Linked DNA regions of Homo sapiens: regions 1 and 3 are each linked to region 2. Evidence: promoter capture Hi-C in human tissues and cell types (Jung and others, 2019). All regions are on one chromosome and are shown on one strand. Each heading gives the region's core, a stretch centred on a gene start or on the middle of the fragment in contact. The rest is flanking DNA. Distances are from core to core; before and after follow the strand shown.

The links. The method cuts DNA at HindIII sites, captures the fragments that hold promoters and counts their contacts. A contact is called where the count stands out against the background at its distance.
Region 1: a fragment that was not itself captured here is called in contact with the fragment with the promoter of NAA16 in region 2 in 1 of the 25 tissues and cell types used here (lymphoblastoid cells).
Region 3: a contact is called between a fragment that was not itself captured here and the fragment with the promoter of NAA16 in region 2, in 1 of the 25 tissues and cell types used here (lymphoblastoid cells).

What each region holds. Positions count from the first base shown.
Region 1 is chr13:40,961,486-40,964,185 of GRCh38, reverse strand. The region is part of intron 2 of ELF1 (E74 like ETS transcription factor 1); the gene reads left to right. Among named protein-coding and RNA genes, the nearest start is that of ELF1, 56 kb to the left of the region's middle. The HindIII fragment of the contact is 6,199 bases long and covers 1-2,700 here.
Region 2 is chr13:41,309,950-41,312,649 of GRCh38, reverse strand. It overlaps NAA16 (N-alpha-acetyltransferase 16, NatA auxiliary subunit), which reads right to left and starts at 1,383. Exons shown (of 20, transcript NM_024561.5): 1 at 1,068-1,383. The coding sequence starts at 1,121. It also overlaps a transcript of MTRF1 not described here. The HindIII fragment of the contact is 7,787 bases long and covers 1-2,700 here.
Region 3 is chr13:41,023,195-41,025,894 of GRCh38, reverse strand. It overlaps a transcript of ELF1 not described here. Among named protein-coding and RNA genes, the nearest start is that of ELF1, 5.2 kb to the right of the region's middle. The HindIII fragment of the contact is 4,987 bases long and covers 1-2,700 here.

The DNA.
Region 1 (2,700 bases), core at 153-2,652, 350 kb after region 2:
CTCTAGAAGGAATTGTAGAATGTGTGGTTCTAGAGTTCTTAGGTTCTTGATGACTCATACTTTAGCCAGTTACTGGTCAATCCAGTTTACAAAGCAGTTCATCATGAGCCCAGATCAGCAGCTGGAGTTTCAGGAGTGTGCATTTTTTTTCTATTTATGGTAGTAGAGTGGGAAGAATCTTTCTAGTCACCTGAGAGGTGTTTCCTAAATGTATTTTGTATATACAGATTCAAGCCTCTTACCTGACTTATTCATAGTCTTTCTTTTTTTTTTTCTTTTTGAGACGGAGTCTTGCTCCGTCACCCAAGTTGGAGTGCAGTGGTGCGATCTTGGCTCACTGCAACCTCTGCCTCCTGGGTTAAGTGATTCTCCTGCCTCATCCTCCTGAGTAGCTGGGACTATAGGCTCATGCCACCATGCCCAGCTAATTTTTGTATTTTTAGTAGAGGCAGGGTTTTACCATGTTGGCCAGGATGTTCTCAATCTCTTGACCTCGTGATCCGCCCGCCTCGGCCTCCCAAAGTGCTGGGATTACAGGCGTGAGCCACTGCGCCCAGCACCTAACTATTCATATTCTTATGAAAATCTGAAGTTGGTCTCTTTCTTATATATGGATTAATAGCATCCTGGGGAAACGAGAGATGAACAACTTTGAATATACATCCCATGTCAGTGGACTAGAAAAGAATGGACCATGCCTTTCATGATAAAAGCAAGTACCTCAGAAGGAGAAGGCTGTAGGACTAAATTAGGAGTGATCCTGGGAAGTGCCCTGCTGACCAAGAAGAACTGGCTATTCCCATGAGAAATTTTGTTATAGACTCTGATTGGTGAAGCCTTGGAAATAATAGTGAAACTCATACCTCCACCTCAAACACAGCTCCTTAATTATTCTGGTTTTCTAAACAGAGCCAAGTAAGTATGCCAGCAGAACAAATCTACTATGTTTAAAGCTGACTACAATAGTGTATAAGTAAAGGACATGGACCCTGGAGTCAGTTCAAGTTAGGTTTATGACTTGGAGTAGATTATTTCCCTTGCCTCTGTTTTCTCATGTGTAAAATGGATAGTCCAGTGTGTCTCCATCATAGCATTTTGTGATGATTAAATAGAGTGATAATTCACGTAAAGCAATGTGCAAAATGTCTCGTGCATATTAAATGTTGGTTAATAGCAATGGCAGCAGCTATGTGGCCACAGTGCATGCTACTCTCCCATTTTAGTGTGTAAGAGTGAATAATCTCTTCTCGTGAAATGTTATAAGCTCAGACAGTAGAATCCATGAATTCAAAATATTAACAAAGCAAAACCTGGAAGGGCCTGTAGGATCAACTGGTGCTCTTCATTCATTTAAAGGTTCAGAAAATAAGGTCATGAAATCAGGGTTGGAGAAGGCCCTAGGTCTCCTGGTTCCCAGTTTTTCTTTTCTGCTACATGTGGCTGCCTTCTAAATCACAGAACCATGTGTCTCTTTTCATTCTTCTTCTTCTTTTTTTTTTTTTTTTTGAGACAGTCTTCTTCACTCAGGCCAGAGTGCAGTGGTGCGACCTTGGTTCACTGCAACCTCCGCCTCCCAGGTTCAAGCCATTCCCCTGCCTCACCCTCCTAAGTAGCTGGGATTGCAGGTGCCCGTCACCATGACTGGCTCATTTTTTGTATTTTTTTAGTAAAGACAAGGTTTCACCGTGTTGGCCAGGCTGATCTCGAACTCCTGACCTCAAGTGATCCACCCACCTTGCCCTCCCAAAGTGCTGGGATTGCAGACATGAGCCACCACTCCTGGCCACTCTCTTTTTTTAATCCCAAAGACTTCAAAACTACTTTTCATTCTTAATAAACCTTTTGCTTCAAAGGAAACGTTTTTTTCTCTTGACGTTTGTGTGTTTGAAATTTTCCTTATTAAATAGTTTAAAAATTATTAAATTTAAACTGAATTTAATTATGATTGTTTAAAGCAATTTGGAGTATGCCTGACTGTACATTTACTGTCTGTACAGTAACAGAACAAAGAAATTGGTAGCAGTGATTGCCTCTGGGAAGGGCACTGTGGTAGAAGTGACATTGATTATAAAGGAGAATTCTGGAGAATAGAGTAACTACTGGTTAGTAGAACAGGACAAGGAATAAAGTAGTAACAAGTATCTGTGGTTAACCAAAACTCAAGAACTGTATAGACTCAAAAATTTGGAAGTATCCCTTGTTATGTACACATTAGCACTCTCTACCCAAGCTACAGGAGCCAAATAGATTTGGTTAGGGAGGAATACTTTGGTTTCATTTGGGTGAGAACTGCTCCTGTGAATTGCATTTTACACGCCTGTCTCTGACTTATCAGTGGATGAAGTGATGAGCTCTGTTCCTACCTTGTACATGGGTTTTTGCAGCATAAAAGTGCTTAATTCTGGACTAAGCCTTGTTAGAAGACCAGGAGCTTAATTGAGCTTTTAGAAGAGAAGAAAAGGAAAAGTGTTTTAACAAGTCCATGTTTATGCTAGGTGGGATTGCATGTCTACAATTTACCTGTCAAAAAAGGGAAAGGGAAGGCTAGCTACACTTTTCTTTAAGGTGTGTGAAGTGTATTTATGTGAGTTACGGTATAATTTTTTTCTTTCTTTTTTTTTCAGTGACAGGGTTTTGCTGTGTTGCCCAGGCTGAAGTACAGTAGGTATTCACAGATGGGATTGTAGCACAGGACAGCCT
Region 2 (2,700 bases), core at 134-2,633:
TAAGCAACAACTAACAGCCATATAGCCAACCCAGCTTTCAATAAATTCACCTTTAAACCTAAATGCATGTTTAGCAAATAAAAGCTTTTTTTCAGGTGAAAAGATAAACTAGAAAAGACAGTTACCTACTAACAATATTAGTTTAAAACCTAGGGTAGCCAGAGGATACTGAGGAAAGCAAAGGAATGCTGCCTCTTCTCCTTGGAAGAACAGAACCTGGAAAGCTACCAGGGACGCTGGCACACAGCCCACAGAAAACTGCCCACCCGGCTCCGCAGCGGTCATCACTACGGGGCCATTATTCAGGCTTCTGCTCCGCGATAAAGTAAAAATGCTCCCCTCAAATGCAAAACCAGCCAGTCCACGCGGCTTTAATTACTCAAGCAAGGCCTGTGCGACTAAAAAGCAAACAGCTGTTTTGAAGTTGGTGACAACTCAGAAACGCACTTCAAGTCAAATATTCACTTCCAAAGAGGTAAATAAGGTACATTACAAACAGGCAAACTTTTTCCCAAAGGGAGGTGGTGCCAGGCCTGGCTTCCTAAAGTTGCCGGTTTTATTTCCTCGTAACCAGGAAAAATTCCACCATCGCATCGATCCCGCTTTAATAGGTATGCGGGTGTGCTGTGCAATCTAACTAAACGCAAAGCAGAGAATGCAGAACGCAAAACACCTAGCCGAGGAGAGACTGGCAAAATAAACCACCGGGGGAGGATCCCTGAGGGGCTGCTGCGAGCCCGGCGCGGCAGAGAGCACGGCAGCCACTACCGGCCGAGGCGGCTGTGCCCGGGCACTGCGGAGAGCGGCGTGAAGTTTCTGGAAAGAGCGCGGCGGGGGTGAGGCGAGCCGCAGAAGACCGCGGAAAGGAAGCGCACGGAGGAGCGGCTCGGCAGCCCCCGTGGGCCGGCCGGAGCGGGAAAGTGGGGTCCCGCGACCTCCGAGGTAAACAAAGAGCGGTGGGCAGCGGAGGCCAAGCCTGGCCCGCGCCGGCCGCCGCCAGACCGCTTGCCCTTAAGGCCCGAGGACCCGGGGACCGGGGGGCGGCAGCGCGGCCTACGGCCACTCACCAAGATGCGTTTGAAGAGGTTGCTCTCCTTGGGCGGCAGCAGCACGTTCGGCATCGTGGCCGGCAGGGAGGCTAGGTGGCCGGCAGGGAGGCTAGGTGCCCGGGCGCTCCGCTTCGCGGGGGTGGGCACCGGGACGAACCGCTGCTGAGAGTCGGGCTGCGGGCGATGGATTAGTTCATTGGTCTACAGTTGCAATTGGGCAGCCTGGCTGTTCGGCACGGGTGGCAATGGAGAAGGAAGGCGGTCTGAGCAGGACACGCTTCCCCTGGGCTCCGCTTTTTGGCCAGCGGCGGCGGCGGCGGTTCCCGCGCACTGCAAGATGGCAGCCAGGGTCCGCCTCCCGAGCCGGATCCTGTGCGCATGCGCGGAGCGCCCTTTGGCGAGGGGCTGCGGGTGACTACGGGGGCGTAGCGGGGACCAACCGCGTGGATTTGCCTTGTGCTGCGGCTCTCCTCGCCGCAATCTCGGCACCCCCTGGGGCTCAGGCGAGCTGTCACCAAAACCTTGGAGTCCCATGGGGTGGTGAGTCACCACCCTCATTCACCATTGCTCCTATGCATCAGAACGCCTCATAAGACTCCTACTTATTGTCTGCTTCTCCTTGCAATAAAGTAATAAATAAAAACGAGAATTTTCTTTTAAGTAGAAAAGAGAAGACACTGACTTGTATTGCACTCTTGATAAGCTTGTGGCGCAAGATAATGTTAGTTATGACTCTGAAGAGTCAGAGTTTTTTGCATTTCTCCCCATTTAGGAATTTAAGTGTCCGATGCAAAGTAGACTTTTGATGAAAGATGAACTTGTTTTCTTTCCTTTTCCTCCTTGATTCAGACTCTAAGTAGAAGCCTTCTCTTTCCAGGGCAAACCAAACAAACATTTACAATCTTTGTTTTTGTTTGGTTGGTTGGTTTTGAGATGGAGTATCGCTCTTGTCGCCCAGGCTGCAGTGCAGTGGCGCTATCTGGGCTCACTGCAACCTCCGCCTCCTGAGTTCAAAGGATTCTCCTGCCTCAGCCTCCCGAGTGGCTGGGATTACAGGCATGCGCCACCACACCCGGCTAATTTTGTATTTTTAGTAGAGACAGGCTTTCACCATGTTGGCCAGGATGGTCTTGATCTCTTGACCTCGTGATCCGCCCCCGCGTCAACCTCCGAAAGTGCTGGGATTACAGGCGTGAGCCACCACACCTGGCCGGAATTACGGTTTTATAAGGCCACTGGTCTTCTGAGTCTACCTACCCTTTCTCTTCAGATGGTTCCCCTTCCTGAAAGCCATATAATAATGGGAGAAACAGGCTTCAAATTCAGGATCTTCCAACTCTGGGATACTCTCTACAACAAATAAAAGGCAGCATATTGATGGTAATGTGTGAGTCTAGAAAGATACAACAGTGGCAAGAATAAACCATACATTCAGTGTAGGGTTAGTAGTAAGGTGTGTGTAAACATTAGGTACATAAGTTTATTTATACATGTGCTGAATCTTAATGGGTGCATATTTCTGAGACTATAAAGTAATTGATGAGTAACTGCATTTAGTCGGCTGTAATCAGAACTGGGCTGCCCTTTTTTATTTTCCTTTTTTTGAGACGATGTTTTGTTCTTGTTGCCGAGGCTGGAATGCAATGGCGCT
Region 3 (2,700 bases), core at 25-2,524, 290 kb after region 2:
ATAGCTGTATGTAACAGATACCAGGAGATCTGTTGAGGGTAAAGAATGAGCTCACATCTGGTACAGCAGCTGCAATCGGAGTCACCACTTGGTTAAGCTTATGATAATCCACCGTGATTCTCCTAGATTCATCTGTCTTCTGCACAGGCCGAATAGGGTTTATTTATCAGCAGTATGTCTCTTTTGTTTGCTGTCTAGCAAGGGGCTAGAACAGTACCTGGCACATAGTAAGTGCTGAGTAAATATTTGTTAAATGAATGACAAAGAGTCCCTCAAATCAGTCACTAACTTGACATTGGGAAGTCACTTTGTACAGACCTCTTATCTCTATTTTTAAAATGAGACTGGATTGGATTCGTGTTTTAAGCTGTCCTACAGTGAAGACTTAAATGTATGGAGTGTCAAGGTTCCTTGAAGCCTTTATAAAAATTCAGCTGCTTAAGTAAAAAGTTTAGAAACCACTGGACTGGATAAAGTGTCTCTAAGGTCTCTTTCAGTTCTGCGATAACCAGTTCTCACAGTAATTGTAAGTGGGGCTGTTGAGGAGATCCTTCTGTAGAGGAGGCATTGAAATTGAGACTTGATGGATGGATGTTCATAGGCAGAGGTCGGGCATAGGATAGGAAATAAGGTAAGTGCTTTTCAGGCCCAGGGAACAGTGATAAGGAAGTGAGACAAATAGGAATGGAGCAATTCAGGAAATTTCCGTACAGCTGTCAGGGGCTAGGGAGTGAGGGAGAGTCAGGAAGATAGGGCTGGAAAAGTTAGGGAAATTAAAGTCAGATTGTGAAAGCCTTGAACGCCATAATAGTCTGGCTTTTAATTTTGCCTCTAAGAAATCAGTTATTTTATTTCTTTTTGTTTTTTGGGCCATAAGTGATAATCATTTCACTCTCAGAGTTGTTCTTTAGGAAGACTTCTCTAATAGCAGAGTGATGGGTGAATTTAAAGTAGGCAGTTGGTGGTAGAGAAAGATTCTGTCAGTTAGGAGGAGACTGTGATGTTACTTTTCCTGTGATATGATGAGTACTTTTTTACCTGAAGAGTAGCAAAGGAGGAGCTTAAGTTTCACTTTAAACTCAGTATAAAAATTAGATTTCCTCTCTGCAACATTTAGAGATTATTGAATAGTAGGTTAACAAATGTCTTTGAGTGGCTGCTGTGTGAAGAGCAGTAACTACAGTAGATGCTAGGGCTACATAGAAACACAGCAATGGTGGCCATGTGTGGTTGTTCATGCCTGTAATCCAAGCACATTGGGAGGCCGAGGCAGGCGGATCGCTTGAGCTCAGGAGTTTGAGACCAGCCTTGGCAACATGGCAAAACCCTGCCTCTACAAAAAAATACAAAAATTAGCCAGACATACAAAATACAAAATTAGCCAGAAATACAAAAAAATACAAAAAATAACCACATTGTGGTGCATGCCTGTAGTCCCAGCTACTCAGGAGGCTGAGGTGGGAGGATCGCCTGGGAGGCAGAAATTGCTTTACGCTGAGGTGCCAAGGTCCTGCCACTGCACTCCAGCCTGGGTGACAGAGCAAAACTCTGTCTCAAAAAACAAAAACAGCCACCCCCCCCAAAACAAACAAACAAACAAACAAAAACAGCAGTGGTTCTCATAAGCCTGACCTCCACCTGCACTACTGAATCCATTTCCAGGAGTTGGCATGTGTCTTCATAAAGCTCCTTCAGGGGTACATTCCTGGTTACAGGCTACTGAAGTAAAAGATACATTATTTTTAATATTGAATTTAAAATTTAATTATGAGAGATAAAATATGTCTATACAAACAACTTGAGATTGCAGTCAGCATATTACCTGGGAGCTTTATAAAGAATATAATCATACCATCAATTCTTGGTTATTTTTAATATCAGAGGAAACAGTAATACCCAGAATAATACCTGCAATAGAACCTTGAATTTGTCTATATCAAGTCATAGGGGCCAAGTCATGTCTTTAAAGATATTTCAATGTTTACGAAAATCCTGATATGCTACATTTTTCCCCTCAGTGAGCAGTTTTAGGAAAGTCACTCATTCATGTCTCTGAATTTCTGCTGAGTTTTGGGCCTTGTCCTAGGTGATGGGAATATAGTGCAGACAAAAGCCATGGCCCCTTTTGCCTTTGATAAGCCCCTGAAAATACATAGACTGTTGCCTAAGAGGCCTGCTTTTTGTGGGTGGTAAAAAGTACCACCTAGTTACCTGTCCGTGCAGAAGTGGGAAAGAGGATTTGGTTTAACAAAGCTAGTGATAGAGCATAGAAAATTAACTGTGTTTTACGTTTAAGCTCACATGTAGAAATTCTACACAATTCTTGGAACCTGGGATTATATTTTTGAGAGGCATTAACATCAACAAAATAAATTCTGCATGATTGAAAGATTCATAACACTCAATCTCAGTCTTCTGAATTTTATTTTTCTATTTAAATAGTGGGGAACATTGATTTTGGTCATTTGCCATTTTAATGGTGTGATCTTTTCTTTTTCCATCTCTGATAGTCATAGCATGTTAGCTCCCGACCTATGGGGCGGATTCAAACAAAGCTTTTTTTAGCCTAAGTTTCCTAGATATGGAAATTAGAGTATTCTGTATTTTTGTACTAGAAGTTTTGAGATTTGAGTTCAAAGGGAAGAGGTAACAGTAAAAAGGAAAAATGAGCCCTAGCACAATAAATTCTTTTTATAAATT